Regions from separate parts of the Homo sapiens genome. Here regions 2 and 3 are each linked to region 1. The links are contacts of gene promoters, found by promoter capture Hi-C in blood cells and fetal thymus (Javierre and others, 2016). All regions are on one chromosome and are shown on one strand. Each heading gives the region's core, a stretch centred on a gene start or on the middle of the fragment in contact. The rest is flanking DNA. Distances are from core to core; before and after follow the strand shown. Region 1 holds the start of TCHH (trichohyalin). Region 2 has its middle 42 kb from the start of CRNN. Region 3 has its middle 14 kb from the start of CRNN.

Region 1 (4,533 bases), core at 695-3,194:
AAGGGTTTTTCTGTTATAATAAATGCAATTTGGGGTATTTTTTCAAGGCTGTTCAAAAGCATGGTGATGGGGGGAATTGCCATTCTAACTATAATTTTAGAATGGTTAATGCTACTTTTCCCTTTATTTTCATGGAACCTAAAAATTTCCAGTTCCCTTTAGGGTTTATTCACTATAGGAAAGTAATGGAGTCATGTAAATGCATCCCATCACCTGAACTGAGGTTTCCCAATAGATCACACACAGGAGGATACAAACAAAAGCAGACATAAGGCAGTCCTTGCCCAGGTTATTCCTTGAAGAACACTCATACAAAAGGCTAGTGCCCTCTGTGAGAGAGTGAGCTTCCATGATCACATGATTGCAGTGTGGTCAGTGCTTATGATGGTCCTATCTCAGAATCCAAAGAGTAAGAGAGCTGCATAAAACCCTAAAAAGAAGGGGAAAAATGAGAAGTCTTCACCCTTCACCAAGGAATTGCCACATCAAGTTTGTTAACTGAGCCCAAGAAATAGTGACAGTTCTGACAGTCCTAGGAAAACCACTAAATTGTAGACTTCAGTGTTGAAGTCCTTAAGAGGCAGAAATTAGCATTGCTTATAATTGTCTTCCCATTCCCTGTCACTTCTACCTTCCTCTGTACCCCACATCTAGGATGGCAGCAAGTGAGGGGGCAAATAGAGTTCAACTCCATTATCATTTAGACCAATCTGCACATAAAGAAATAGCCATCAAGATTTAGATTCCAAATTTTCACTCATGCCATTGAAGGACGTTCAGTTGCCTCAAAATTCAGAAAACCAACACTTGCCTCTGTTGGACAAAGGAGGAGACAAAAGTGCAGAGAAGCCATTGAATCATTTAATAGTCTTCATAAATTATGAACCAAAGTTTCATATAGTCTGAAATGTAAGGAAGGAAGTCACTGACAACCATGGATAAAATCCAATTCCTTACAATAAAACAGCACTGAAATTTGCAAATGATCAACCAGATTGAGAAAGCCCTGATGGATATAATGGGCTAGAATGACCAATTACCTCAATGTACTTCCAGGAGAAGCAGACTCAAGTGTTTAGGTGTCATAATCATTAGTAACTTAGGCTGAGCAGGATGATTATATCTACAATAATACATTACACCAGCTCTTTTTCCCCAGGGGCATCAATATGCTAATGAGAAAACTAATGAACAAACTTCATTTAGGTTTAATGTCTCTAAGAATGAAATTTCACAGATTTCAAGTTTTCTTATGAACGGTTTAATAAAAATATATTTCCAAGGTACCCTTCCAAACTTTACTGAGGAGGCAGTCCCCAATCTGTAGGAAAACCATCATAAGACCCGGGAGACAAATGTAAAAATTTTTCCCACCTGCATTTTTAGAGAAGAAACTAACCAATTCTTTACAGCTCTCTCATTGCCCTAGAATTGAAGCAACTGCTTCTGGCAGGGCTTATGAGCAGCTCACCATGGACTGTCACATCCCATGGAGAAATTAATTGGTTTTCATCACTTTATTTCAAAGTTTCTGCTTAATCCCAAACTAGAGATTGTATCTTTTATAAAGCAAATGGCTTAGAGTTTACTCCTTTGTAATGAAGTAATAATCAATTAAGATTGTGAACATTTAATACCTTTGTTTTATTATTTAATTTACTTTTAACAATTTAAGAAAATTGGAGATTCTGCCAAATATTCTACCCTCCCATGTTAGGTGGGGCTGGTACCCTGACTGTCAGGAGGCAAGGTCTGTGAACCTCGTGCCAAATAGCTACGTGAGCAAATAGTGAGATAAACAAGCCATTTGTGGAGACAGAGGTGGAGCTGGGCTTGGTTAGGAATGAATCAGGCCATCCCACAGAGTGGGTGTCTCCTTCCCAAGTTGCTTTCCAGGGCACAATTAAAACCCCTATAAAAGGCCCAGCTCCCAGTTACCCAGTACACTTGCCTGTGGTGTCAGCAAGCACTGTCGACTTCTTCCTCTGGTGAAGTGGGTAAGTCCCATTCTGTGGGATCGTGGTCTTCTTTATGATTCTCCATTTTTATAGCTATTTCAGATGTTGGGATATGGGGGGAGGTTCCATGTGCCAGAAGGTATCAGTATTTTGCAGGGATAAATAAACTATCACTAACTCTATCCCATCTTCTTATGGTTGGAGCCATCACTTGAACTGAAGCATGACCCTTCTCCTTGGGCTCTGAACTCTATACTTCTGCACATCAAGGATGATCATGTGTGGCTCTGATAGGGTTCATCTTCCTAAAAACTGCTATCTCAAAAGTTTGCCAGCCTTCTGTTCTCTTTTACATTGGTTCTACCTAATATGGGCCATCTTCATACAGTCACAGCATTTAAGGTACTGGAGTTGAGAAGTACATAAAGAAGTCAGCTAGATGAACGACTACACTTATCCCACCAGCAAAGCCATTCCATGTATTCTTATAACATTGATCTACTGCTGGCTAATGTTTTATAAAAAGCCAAGATTCCAATGATGCATTTGGGTTTAACAAAACCAATATCATTCACAGTTTTCTGGATTCCGTTTGGTTTAGAAAGGACCTCTCAGAAGCTTTCAATACTTCAATATCCGAATATCTTACTATATCTGAGTTGAGGCAGGTAATATACAGTCTCTGTTTTCTGCATTTGTGTATCTGAATGTTACAATGCCATCTTTTGACTAGGAAGAAGTACTATTTAATCTTAGAATTGCTGACTTACAAATTATATTCTATAAGAGTTCCTAAATCCTTTATGGACTGTAATGTTGAGGAATCATTCATATTCCCTTTTCATTGTTCTATTTTCTACCAACTGTTTTGCTGACATGGCCTCTATCCACTTTAAGATACTCTCAAGTCTTCCTTCACCTTTTGGCTTTTACCTGTCCTCTTCGCTCAACTTTAAAGGAAGGTGTGTAGACATATATAAAATTTTAATTTCTGCACTCTTCTCTTAATTTTCTACTCTGAAATACGGTGGAGAGCTGGAAGAAAGACAGAAGAAAAGGGCATAGATAATCCACATTGGGTGGACAATCAAAAGCTGACAACAGGATAGTCTGAAGATGATTCCCTGGCTTGGAATTTCTCAGGATCGCTCTTTCTCTTTCTGATACAATATTCAAATATTAAAGTGCTCTGAAAGTCCAGGTTGAAATTACCGCTATAAATTCAAATTATTTAGGGATCTGCCTGAAATAGTGTGAATGAAGCCTTCCCAAAAGCAGAAACGGGATTTTGATTCTGGATCTTATTTTATTGTTCTAGGTTTACTTGAACTTGAAGGAAAGAAAAAAAAATGTCTCCACTTCTGAGAAGCATCTGTGACATCACTGAAATTTTCAATCAGTATGTCTCTCATGATTGTGATGGAGCAGCATTAACTAAGAAAGACCTGAAGAACCTCCTTGAAAGGGAATTTGGAGCTGTGCTTCGGGTAAGAACTAACAAGAAAATGAGATCTATTGACTTGAGGCTATGAGATTTATTCTCAGAGGAGACCAGAGCAAGGAATGGTGGTTTTATATTCATTTTACACCACAACAGGTCTACACTACATCCCCCATTCATTTCTGAGTCAAAAGGTACTTACTTGACATTGTAGTCTGAATAATAAAGTATTTCATGTACTTGATGGCATGGCCATGTGAATGAGCTCTTCATGGGACATTACCACAAAAGATGTCAAATCACACTAGACTTGGAGGAACTTAAATTTGTTTCCAAATTTCAAAACTGAGATCAGCCTGATCTCTATTAAAATGGTGCTACCCGTAAATGTTTTGTTCTGTTTTCTAATATGGAATAGAAACCAAATCAAGAATACTGGCTGCTTCAGACAGAAATGGCTACTGCAAATCCTCATAAATTTCTATTGTATCTCTCTCAAGGATGAGTTCATTCTTTCTCAATTAAAGCGAACTTGTGTTATTCTTTCTTGATGTTGAGTAGCTTTGTTAATTTTACACACAAGTTCACGATGCTGTTTTGAATCTTCACCTCAGGCTCTGCCTCTAAGGTGCGTAGGCTTACCTGCTATTCTACTTTGTGTCTCTCTTCCTGCTTCCTTAGGTTTGATCAGCACTAAATTACGAGATGTAAAAATTTCAAACGAATATATGCTTTAAAGTGAGGGTTCACATTTTACATGGGGACAAAACTTGATACACACTGGACATTTTTCTAATTGCTCTGAATGTCTCTTGAATGTCAGCATAGCATAAAATATATCATGTGTGAATATAATTTTACCACCTGTAAATAGTGCATTGTAAAATTTTTGTTTTCACCATTTTTATAGAGACCACATGACCCTAAGACGGTAGATCTGATCCTGGAACTTCTGGATCTTGACAGTAATGGGCGTGTCGATTTCAACGAATTCCTCCTATTTATTTTCAAAGTGGCTCAAGCTTGTTACTATGCTCTCGGCCAGGCCACGGGACTGGATGAGGAGAAGCGAGCCCGGTGTGACGGAAAGGAGAGCCTGTTACAAGATCGCAGGCAAGAAGAAGACCAAAGGAG
Region 2 (4,533 bases), core at 1,001-3,500, 340 kb before region 1:
GGGCACAGCCAGTCAGCAAGTCTTTTGGGTCCAGACCTCGGCTTCCTCTCTCTCAATGCCTTCTATCAAAACCCCCCCACCTTGTGCCAAGTGCTGCTCACAGTCTGCCAAGCAGCTCCCCTATCTCAGGCTCTACCTAGTCAAAATGATCTTTCAATCAAAATTCCAATTTTCTTTTCAGTCACTTTATATAGCTGTTGTCATAGTAAGTGACAACTTGGTTTAATAAAGCCAGTTGTGCCAGGATGTTGCTAGGTAATATTTGCTACTTCTAGGTAACGTGTATATTTTAACAGGTGCCTTCTGATGATACATATGGGGACAGGTAGGCATTCCAAATGCTGAGATCCAGTGCCACTCACCTTTAGACCACCCTGCATTCCATGGGCTATACTTAATATTTGGTGCTTACCCACAGTAAGCTTACATTAGGTTGAACACATAAAATTGTTCATAATCCACCATTTTACCTACAAAACAACAATTTCATATGGTCCAAAATAATATTTCACTTCTTCACCCCCACTCAATTTCAGTGTAGACTCCAGGTCTTTTTTTTTACTTTCCCCATCACATTTTTGCCCTCAAGCACTGTTTTCACTCTTGTTATATTCCCCCCCTCCAGCCCTACCTCAGTTTCCAGTTCCTACACCTTGCCTAGGCCACACCTCACCCTTGCAGGGCATCTCCCTGCTGAGGCAGCTGCTGTGATGGGATTGGTCCCACCTGCCATCTCCAAAATGAGCACAACAGGGCTTTGTCCAGCCAAGAACATAGGGCTCCAGCTCCTCCCATACCACAATATCCCATGAGCACTCTCTCAGTCTCCCAGCAAACTTCTCTGCCCTCGCAGACTCTGGAGTGCCAGTCCCATCGAGTAACTATCTGAAACCCTTTGAGTCTAATTGTCTTCAGATGTGAAATGTAAAAGGACAATGCACACCACATAAGGTTGACATAAGGAATGACTGGCGTAATGGTTGTAAAAAGCCTAGCACTGTGCCTGGCAGATGGCAGTCATTCTGCAAGGTACAGTTGCCCTCTCAGAACCTAGGCATGGTGTACAAGACCAAAGCCCCCAAAGCAACTCATTGTCCTGTCCACCTCTTCCTAAAATGCCATGTTATTGTTGCACCCCCATAGGCACCATTTTGTCAAGTGTGGTCTGGTCCTATTCTCCAAGCACTCTGTATCACACACTCCTGTGATTGCCACAGCATGGGGCAGGGCTGGCCTGGTAACTCCCTAAGGGACTAAGTCCTGCCTCACCAACAGTCTTCTATTCTGTCCTGGGCCCCTGAGATTCTGCCCTTCCACACAACAAGAGTAGTGACTGTGATACCAGAACCACATGACATGTTAAATAAAGAGGCTCTGTAAAGAGGAGCAGAGAGATGTGTGCCCCGGAGGGGAGGGAGGTGGTCAGGCTGGGGGTGAAGAGTGGTGGGACTTGGCCCTAGGAACTCCTGCCCTTTTGTCCTCCTTCCTGCCATACCCTCTCCTGTGTGTTCTTAGCATCTCACCCCCACTCCTCATCTCTCCAGTTCTAAAACAGTCTGTCAAGGCTTCTGGAAGTGGAGAGAGACCCAGGCTGGTTATGGAGGGATTATAAGGAACTGCTAAACACAAAAGACAATGGTCAGCCTCACCCAGACAAAGGCAAATGCCTGTCTTAGTGGGGAGATTGCATGTTCATCCAATTTGAAATTTTAAACAGATGTATAACTCTAAATACTTTAGAATTACAATGTTAGGTTGTGATTTTGAAAAATACCAGAAAAAATGGTATTATGCTAGCAAAAATATAAAGTGGAAATTTCCTCTTCCAATGGGAATGGAGTTACAGGGATGGATTTATCCTGTAACCTGAAACAACTACATAATCTGACAAGCTATAGTTGGCCTTCCTTATACTTGACTTCTACATCCATGGATTCAACCAACCATGGATCAAAAACATTTGAAAAAATACAATAAAAATACAATTTAAAAATACAGTATAACAACCATTTACATAGCATTTACATTATATTAGGTATTATAAGTAATCTAGAGATGTTTTCATGTCTACAGGAGGATGTGCATAGGTTATATGCAAATATCTTGCCATTTTACGTGAGGGATTTGAGCATCTCCAGATTTTGGCATCTTCAAGGGTCTTGGAACAAATCCCTCGTGAATACCAAGGAATGGCTATATAAAAAGAACAATAGTTTTCAAGACCATGAACCTGAAGCAATGCAGGACCATGATGTTTGCAAGATGAAACAAAATGAGCTGAACCCTAGGACTGTCCTGGCCTCCTCCCGGCAAAGGGTTTCCAGGCTGTGACTCAGGGAGCGGAAACTGGCAGAGTCCAGTGGACTCTCAGGATTGAATAAATGGAACTGGATCCTAAAAGACCAAGGCAGCTAGAGTTTTCAAGACAGACTACTAGCCTAGCTGTGGGGAAAAGAAAGAGAGATCAGACTGTTACTGTGTCTATGTAGAAAGAAGTAGACATAAGAGACTCCATTTTGTTGTGTACTAAGAAAAATTCTTCTGCCTTGAGATGCTGTTAATCTGTAACCCTAGCCCCAACCCTGTGCTTGCAGAGACCTGTGATGTGTTAACTCAAGGTTTAATGGATTTAGGGCTATGCAGGATGTGCTTTGTTAAACAAGTGCTTGAAGGCAGTATGCTTGTTAAAAGTCATCACTACTCTCTAATCTCAAGTACCCAGGGACACAATACACTGCGGAAGGCCGCAGGGACCTCTGCCTAGGAAAGCCACATATTGTCCAAGGTTTCTCCCCAAGTGATAGCCTGGGATATGGCCTCATGGGAGGGGAAAGACCTAACCATCCCCCAGCCCAACACCCGTAAAGGGTCTGTGCTGAGGAGGATTAGTAAAAGAGGAAGGCCTCTTTGCAGTTGAGATAACTCTGAGGAAGGCATCTGTCTCCTGCTCATCCCTGGGCAATGGAATGTCTCGGTGTAAAACCCAATTGTATGTTCCATCTACTGAGACAGGAGAAAACCACCTTATGGCTGGAGGTGAGACATGCTGGTGGCAATACTGCTCTTTAATGCACCAAGATGTTTATGTATTGGCACATCAAAGCACAGCACCTTTTTCTTAACCTTGTTTATGACACAGAGACATTTGTCACATGTTTTCCTGCTGACCTTCTCCCCACTATTACCCTATTGTCCTGCCACATCCCCCTCTCTGAGATGGTAGAGATAATGATCAATAAATACTGAGGGAACTCAGAGACCAGTGCCGGCGCGGGTCCTCCGTATACTGAGCGCCCGGTCCCCTGGGCCCACTTTTCTTTCTCTATGCTTTGTCTCTGTGTCTCTTTCTTTTCTCAGTCTCTCGTCCCACCAGACGAGAAACACCCACAGGTGTGGAGGGGCAGGCCACCCCTTCACCTAGCAAGGCAAGAGCTAGAGAGAGAAGGGGGCAGGGGAGCCCTGACAATCAGGAACAGCCTCCCCTCAGATCCTTAGCTGAGTTATGATCAGCACCTGTATGTGAGGAAACTACCTGAGGCAGAGGATGGACCTCCCTGCAGGAATGAAAGCGAATAATCCCAGGATCACCCCGAGTTAGGAAGAACCCCTGTTCCTAACAGCTAGAGTAGAAAACATCATAATTTATTGGATACTGGGTAGAGTACTCAGAAAGGTTTTGCCTCAGTGGTGTAGTAAAATTGGTCCTAAACTAAACACTGCTCTGGTGCCACCCATCATATCTTAAAAAGCAAAATTTGAAGGACCAAACTGTTTCCAAGTAACTTAACTTTTGTTTCTTATTTATAGAAACAAAAATATATCCAGCCATTCAAATGGTAAAATTCACAATGTGTGGTATCCATAAAAAATTACCAGGCATGAAAAGAAGGAAAATATAATACATAATAAAGAGAGGAAGTCCTAACCAGAGCAAGCAGGCAAGAGAAAGAAATAAAAGGCATCCAAATAGGAAGACAGGAGGTCAGACTATCTCTGCAGGTGATATAATTTTATACCTAGAAAATCCCATAGTCACAGCCCAAAAGCTAGATCTGATAAACAACTTCAGCAAAGCTTCTAGATACAAAATCAGTACACAAAAATCAGTAGCATTTCTATACACCAATAATGTCCAAGCTGAATGCCAAATCAAGAACACAAATCCCATTCACAATAGCCACACACACACAAAACAAAGCAAAACAAAAAAACACCTACAAATACAGCTAAACAGAGGTGCAAGACCTCTACAATGAGAGTTAGGAAACACTGCTGAAAGAAATCAGACATGACACAAACAAATGGAAAAACATTTCATGCTCATGGATAGGAAGAATCAATATTGTTAAAATGGCCATACTGCCCAAAGCAATTTACAGATTCAATGCTATTCCTATCAAACTACCAGGGTCAGAATTAGAAAAAAAATTCTAAAATTCATGTAAAACAAAAAAAAAAAAAGCCCAAATAGCCAAAACAATCCTAGGCAGAAAGAAGAAACCTGGAGGAATCATATTATCTGACTTCAAACTG
Region 3 (4,533 bases), core at 1,354-3,853, 310 kb before region 1:
AAAAAAAAAGTTCTACTCACAGTCAATGAAGGGATTTAAACCACAGCACTGATATACCATATATTAAAGTGGCAACTTTTAAAGCTTATAGCTCCTCATATCAGTGAGTTTGCAGGGGCTGAACATTCATTGGAGTATGAATTGAAACCACTTTTTGATAGAGTAATTTGGTCTGTTGTATATAAGAGCCTCAAAGTTATTAATATTCTTTGACCCCTCAATTTTATTCTGGGTACTTAAGAAAGACATTTAAATTAGGCTTAAATATATGTATTTAAGAATAGTCATATTGTGTGGTTTGTTTGTTTGTTTGCTTTTTAGATGGACTCTTGCTCTGTTGCCCAGGCTGGAATACAGTGGCACAATCTCGGCTCACTGCAACCTCCACCTCCCAGGTTCTGGAGAGTCCCCTGTCTCAGCCTCCCGAGTAGCTGGGATTACAGGCATGTGCCACCATGCCCAGCTAATTTTTGTATTTTTAGTGCAGATGGGGTTTCATCATGTTGGCCAGGCTGGTCTCGAACTTTTGATTTCAAGTGTTCTGCCTGCCTTGGCCTCCAAAAGTGCTGGGATTATAGGTGTGAGCTACTGCACCTGGCCTCATGTTGTGTGTTTTATAAAAGGAAAAAAAAAACCAGGCTAAGAAACTAAAAAGTGGAATAATTAAATATGCAATGGCACCTCCATTCAGTAGAATTCTTTACTACCACTACAAATGATGTTGAAAAGTTGAAGACTATTTAATAATCTTTAAAAACCTAATTTTCTTTTACTATGTGAATTAGTCCATTTTCACGCTGCTGATAAAGACATACCTGAAAAGTTCCACATGGCTGGGGAGGCCTCAGAATCATGGCGGGAGTTGAAAGGCACTTCTTACATGGTGACAGCAAGAGAAAAATGAGGAAGAAGCAAAAGCAGAAACCCCTGATAAACCCATCAGATCTTGTGAGACTTATTCACTATCACAAGAATAGCACAGGAAAGACCAGCCCCCATGATTCAGTTACCTCCCCCGGGTCTCTCTCCCACAACACATGGGAATTCTGGGAGATACAATTCGAGTTGAGACTTGGGTGAGGACACAGCCAAACCACATCCCTATGTAAAAAATTAGGTAAAATAAACTGTATATTGTATACAGAATAATTCCAATATTATATAAAAATATGTGTATATAAGGGCACTATAGTGAAGTTTTTAAAATCTCGGTGGTTGAGAACCTGAGTGGTTGAGTCTGACTCTGACCTTCACTAGCTGTGTGGCCTTGAGCAAGTCACTTAACCCCTATGTGCCTTGTTTCCCTCTCCTAAATAATGATGGTATCCACCTCACTGATGCTGGGAGGATTGAATGAATTAATATCAGGAATGCAGTAATTGATACATGTTAGCTATTGTTAGTATTGTCATTGCTTATCTATGCACATAGAAAAATGGCTGAAAAGATATACAATCTAATGATTGTTCCCAGAGGGCAGTATTATAATCATTTTTATTTTTCCTTTTGATATCTCAATTTTCTTCCATGTACATGTGGTGCTTTTAATAAGAAAAGAAAATTGTGAAATTAAAAATAAAGAAGATTGGAACAGACTTCTTGAGAAGAAAGACAAGAAATAAAAGCCCAGACCAATATATCAAAAGACTGTTAATTTGCTAAGAAATCAGGGGAGAAATCCCTAATTATAAAAAGCCAGGACTATGTTAATGAAATGAGTACCCAGACTGTGATGGTTAATTTTATGTGTCAACTTGGCTAGACTATGATGCCCAGTTTTTGGTCAAACATCAGTCTAGTGTTTCTGTGAAGACATTTTTTAGATGTGATTAACATTTAAATCAGTGGAGTTTGAGTAAATCAGGTCACCCTCTGTAATGTGGGTGGGCCTCATCCAATCAGTCAAAGGCCTTCTGAGAGAAGACTGAGGTTCCCTGAAGAGGAAGGAGTTCTGCCTCCATTCTGCCTTTGGGCTCAAGACTGAAACATCAATTCTTGCTTGAATTTCCAGCCTGCCGGCCTGTCCTGAAAACTTCAGACTTCCCAGTTCCCACAATTGTATGAGCCAATTCCTTAAAATTCCTTCAAATACACTCTCAACACTGTCTCTCTCTTCATATATATCTATGTATATCCTATTGGTTCTGTTTCTCTGAAGAAGCCAGAGTAGTAGACAGACCATGTGAAGAAGCCAGTGAGAATGAGAGAATAGTCTCCAACCTCCAACACAGTGCTCTTCATCTAGAGCCCCAGGGGCAATGATGAGCTAGCCTGTAATTATCGGTGCCTATATCCTCTCTACAGCTTGTAGGGACATATATTATTATGTTAAAAAAAAAAAAGCAATATGGGGCTTGTTAGTGCTTGGAAGTATACAAGACATACTTCCAAGTTACAAAGACATACTTCCAAGTTACAAAGACATACTTCCAAGTATGAACAAAACAAACACATGCGTCCCTTGTGGCAGAGCAGAGCTGGCCCTTCCCCAGATGACACACCTCAGGGACTTCACCTTATACCTTGCAGTGTTCTGTATTTGGTTTTCCATGTGAGGCAGCAACGGGTTCAAAGAGAGACCATCTGAGCACAAGTGATGGGCGTGGCACATCCAGGGAGATCAAGAACCAGGCCAGATGCAGAGACCTGACCTGTGAGCCAAGTCTGGGCACCTGAATCTAGAAGGCAGTGAGCACACCCTTCCCCAGTTAGGACTTCATCCACAGTAAAACTGATGAGCTTCTTTCAATTTAGATCTTAGGAACTGACAGCAAAAATAATTAAAAGTGACAGAACCCACACCATTGTATAAATTATTTGATAGAAATATTAGCTTAAGAAAAATTGTATTCACAATAGATTTCAAAATAATTTACAAAGTGTTTATGGGTTTGACATGAATCCCACCCACCTCACTGGGGAATTGGTAAATCATGTAAGTGTGGTCCTCTCTGGATTTGCTTCTTGTGTGATTCTGATTCTGTGTCAACTGTTGTCAACATATGCCCAAATATTCATAGCTTTGTGCCATAGCTTTTACAGAAGTGGCAGAGACTTTTCTGTTCTTTCCATTTGCAGTCAAAATTTCAGAATTTTCATCAAATACTCTGTTCCTACTTTGCAACTGAACAGAGAAGTTCATGTTGAAACTTAAGTAGATTTATCTTTTATAGGTGAAAACACACTTTATTATTCAGCCATGTTACATTACAAAACCTCCCTCATGAGTCATAGGAGCCTCTGGGTTTTCTGTCTAACCATATCAAGTCTTCTTGTATAAGGACTTTTAGCCAACTCTGAAGAGCTGGTTATCTTTTACCATCACTGCTCTTGTCTCCATCTTCATGATTGGCATCATATATCTATTGTCTACTGAGAGCCTACTGTCATCAGTCACCAGGAAAACCTTTCAAGATTCACCAGTTTATTTAATCTATACACAATACATGAAGGAAAAGGTATTATATAACCTCCATTTTCAGAGAAGACCCCAAAGCTCAGAGAAGTTAAAGGATGTGTCCTAAGTCACTGAGTTCATAAGGGGAGGAGCCAGACTATATCCTGAGCTCAGTTGGCCTGCAAAGTCCTCAGTTTCCATTGGAATAACAACAACAAAAGTCATACCTGGCCAAGGACAGGCCAAGAGTATAACAATTTAGAAGCAAAGAAGGAGGCTCTAAGTTCTTGGAGGCTCCGAGTCCCTTTCTAAAGGGTTGAAATAGGCTATCATGTGTGATACTACATGGTGTTTCAGGGCACCACACTCCTGCATCAGAGAGCTGCTTCTGAAGTCTTGCCCTTCTGTGGGGCCACCCTAACCCATGCCCATAGTCCTCAAAGTCCTCGTTCCTGCCCTGCTGAGAGGGCTGTGGAAGAGGCCCTCACATTGAAAAAAACACTTTACCTACCGCTTATGGGCATTCATGCTCCCCACCTTACCCCAAATCCACCATGGAGGCAAATTTGCATAGGAAGAAGCCCACTGAGCCAGGAATAAAAAAAAACAGCTCCAGTTCCATTGATGTAGGGCAAGTTCTTGGCTTCACTCAGGAAAAAATTCAAAGTCAGCCAGTGGTGGAAGAAAGCAGCTTTACTGTGGTGGCAACAGTGTTACAGCTCCCTGACTGCTCCTGTGGAGGGCTACCCCATTGCCAGTGCACCCAGAGTAGCAACAGGGTGTGGGTTGCAGTCATATTTATACCCACTTTTAATGACATGCTAATTAAGGGGTGGGTTATTCAGAAATAGCTAGAAAATGGGTGGTAACCTCTCAGTGTTGCCCTGGAAGGGGGTATTAACTTCTAGGTGTTGTCACACTATTGGTAAACTGTCATGGCACTGGTGGGAGTGTCTCATGGTGATGGGCAGCAAGAGCAATGGGAGATGCTCAGTGTCTCTTCTCTGTTTTAGCCAGTCTCCAGTCTGGTCCAGAGACAAGTCCTGCCTGCCTCTTACCTCATTATCTCCCTGCACAGTTGTCAGTGTGACTTTGGACATGTCATTTCACCTCTTTGAAACTCAAGTTCCGCCTGT

Evidence for each region. Contacts are between HindIII fragments. The CHiCAGO score rates a contact against its expected background, and 5 or more counts as called.
Region 2: a fragment that was not itself captured here is called in contact with the fragment with the promoter of TCHH in region 1 in 12 of 17 cell types (M0 macrophages, M2 macrophages, naive CD8 T cells and 9 more); the score reaches 10.3 in M0 macrophages.
Region 3: a fragment that was not itself captured here is called in contact with the fragment with the promoter of TCHH in region 1 in 1 of 17 cell types (total CD4 T cells); the score reaches 5.8 in total CD4 T cells.

The regions. Positions count from the first base shown.
Region 1 is chr1:152,112,855-152,117,387 of GRCh38, reverse strand. TCHH (trichohyalin) reads left to right here and starts at 1,944. Exons shown (of 3, transcript NM_007113.4): 1 at 1,944-1,997; 2 at 3,277-3,445; 3 at 4,310-4,533. The coding sequence starts at 3,308. The HindIII fragment of the contact is 15,075 bases long and covers 1-2,578 here.
Region 2 is chr1:152,453,992-152,458,524 of GRCh38, reverse strand. No RefSeq gene overlaps it. Among named protein-coding and RNA genes, the nearest start is that of CRNN, 42 kb to the right of the region's middle. RefSeq lists an enhancer at 1-7. The HindIII fragment of the contact is 3,652 bases long and covers 425-4,076 here.
Region 3 is chr1:152,425,635-152,430,167 of GRCh38, reverse strand. No RefSeq gene overlaps it. Among named protein-coding and RNA genes, the nearest start is that of CRNN, 14 kb to the right of the region's middle. The HindIII fragment of the contact is 5,033 bases long and covers 87-4,533 here.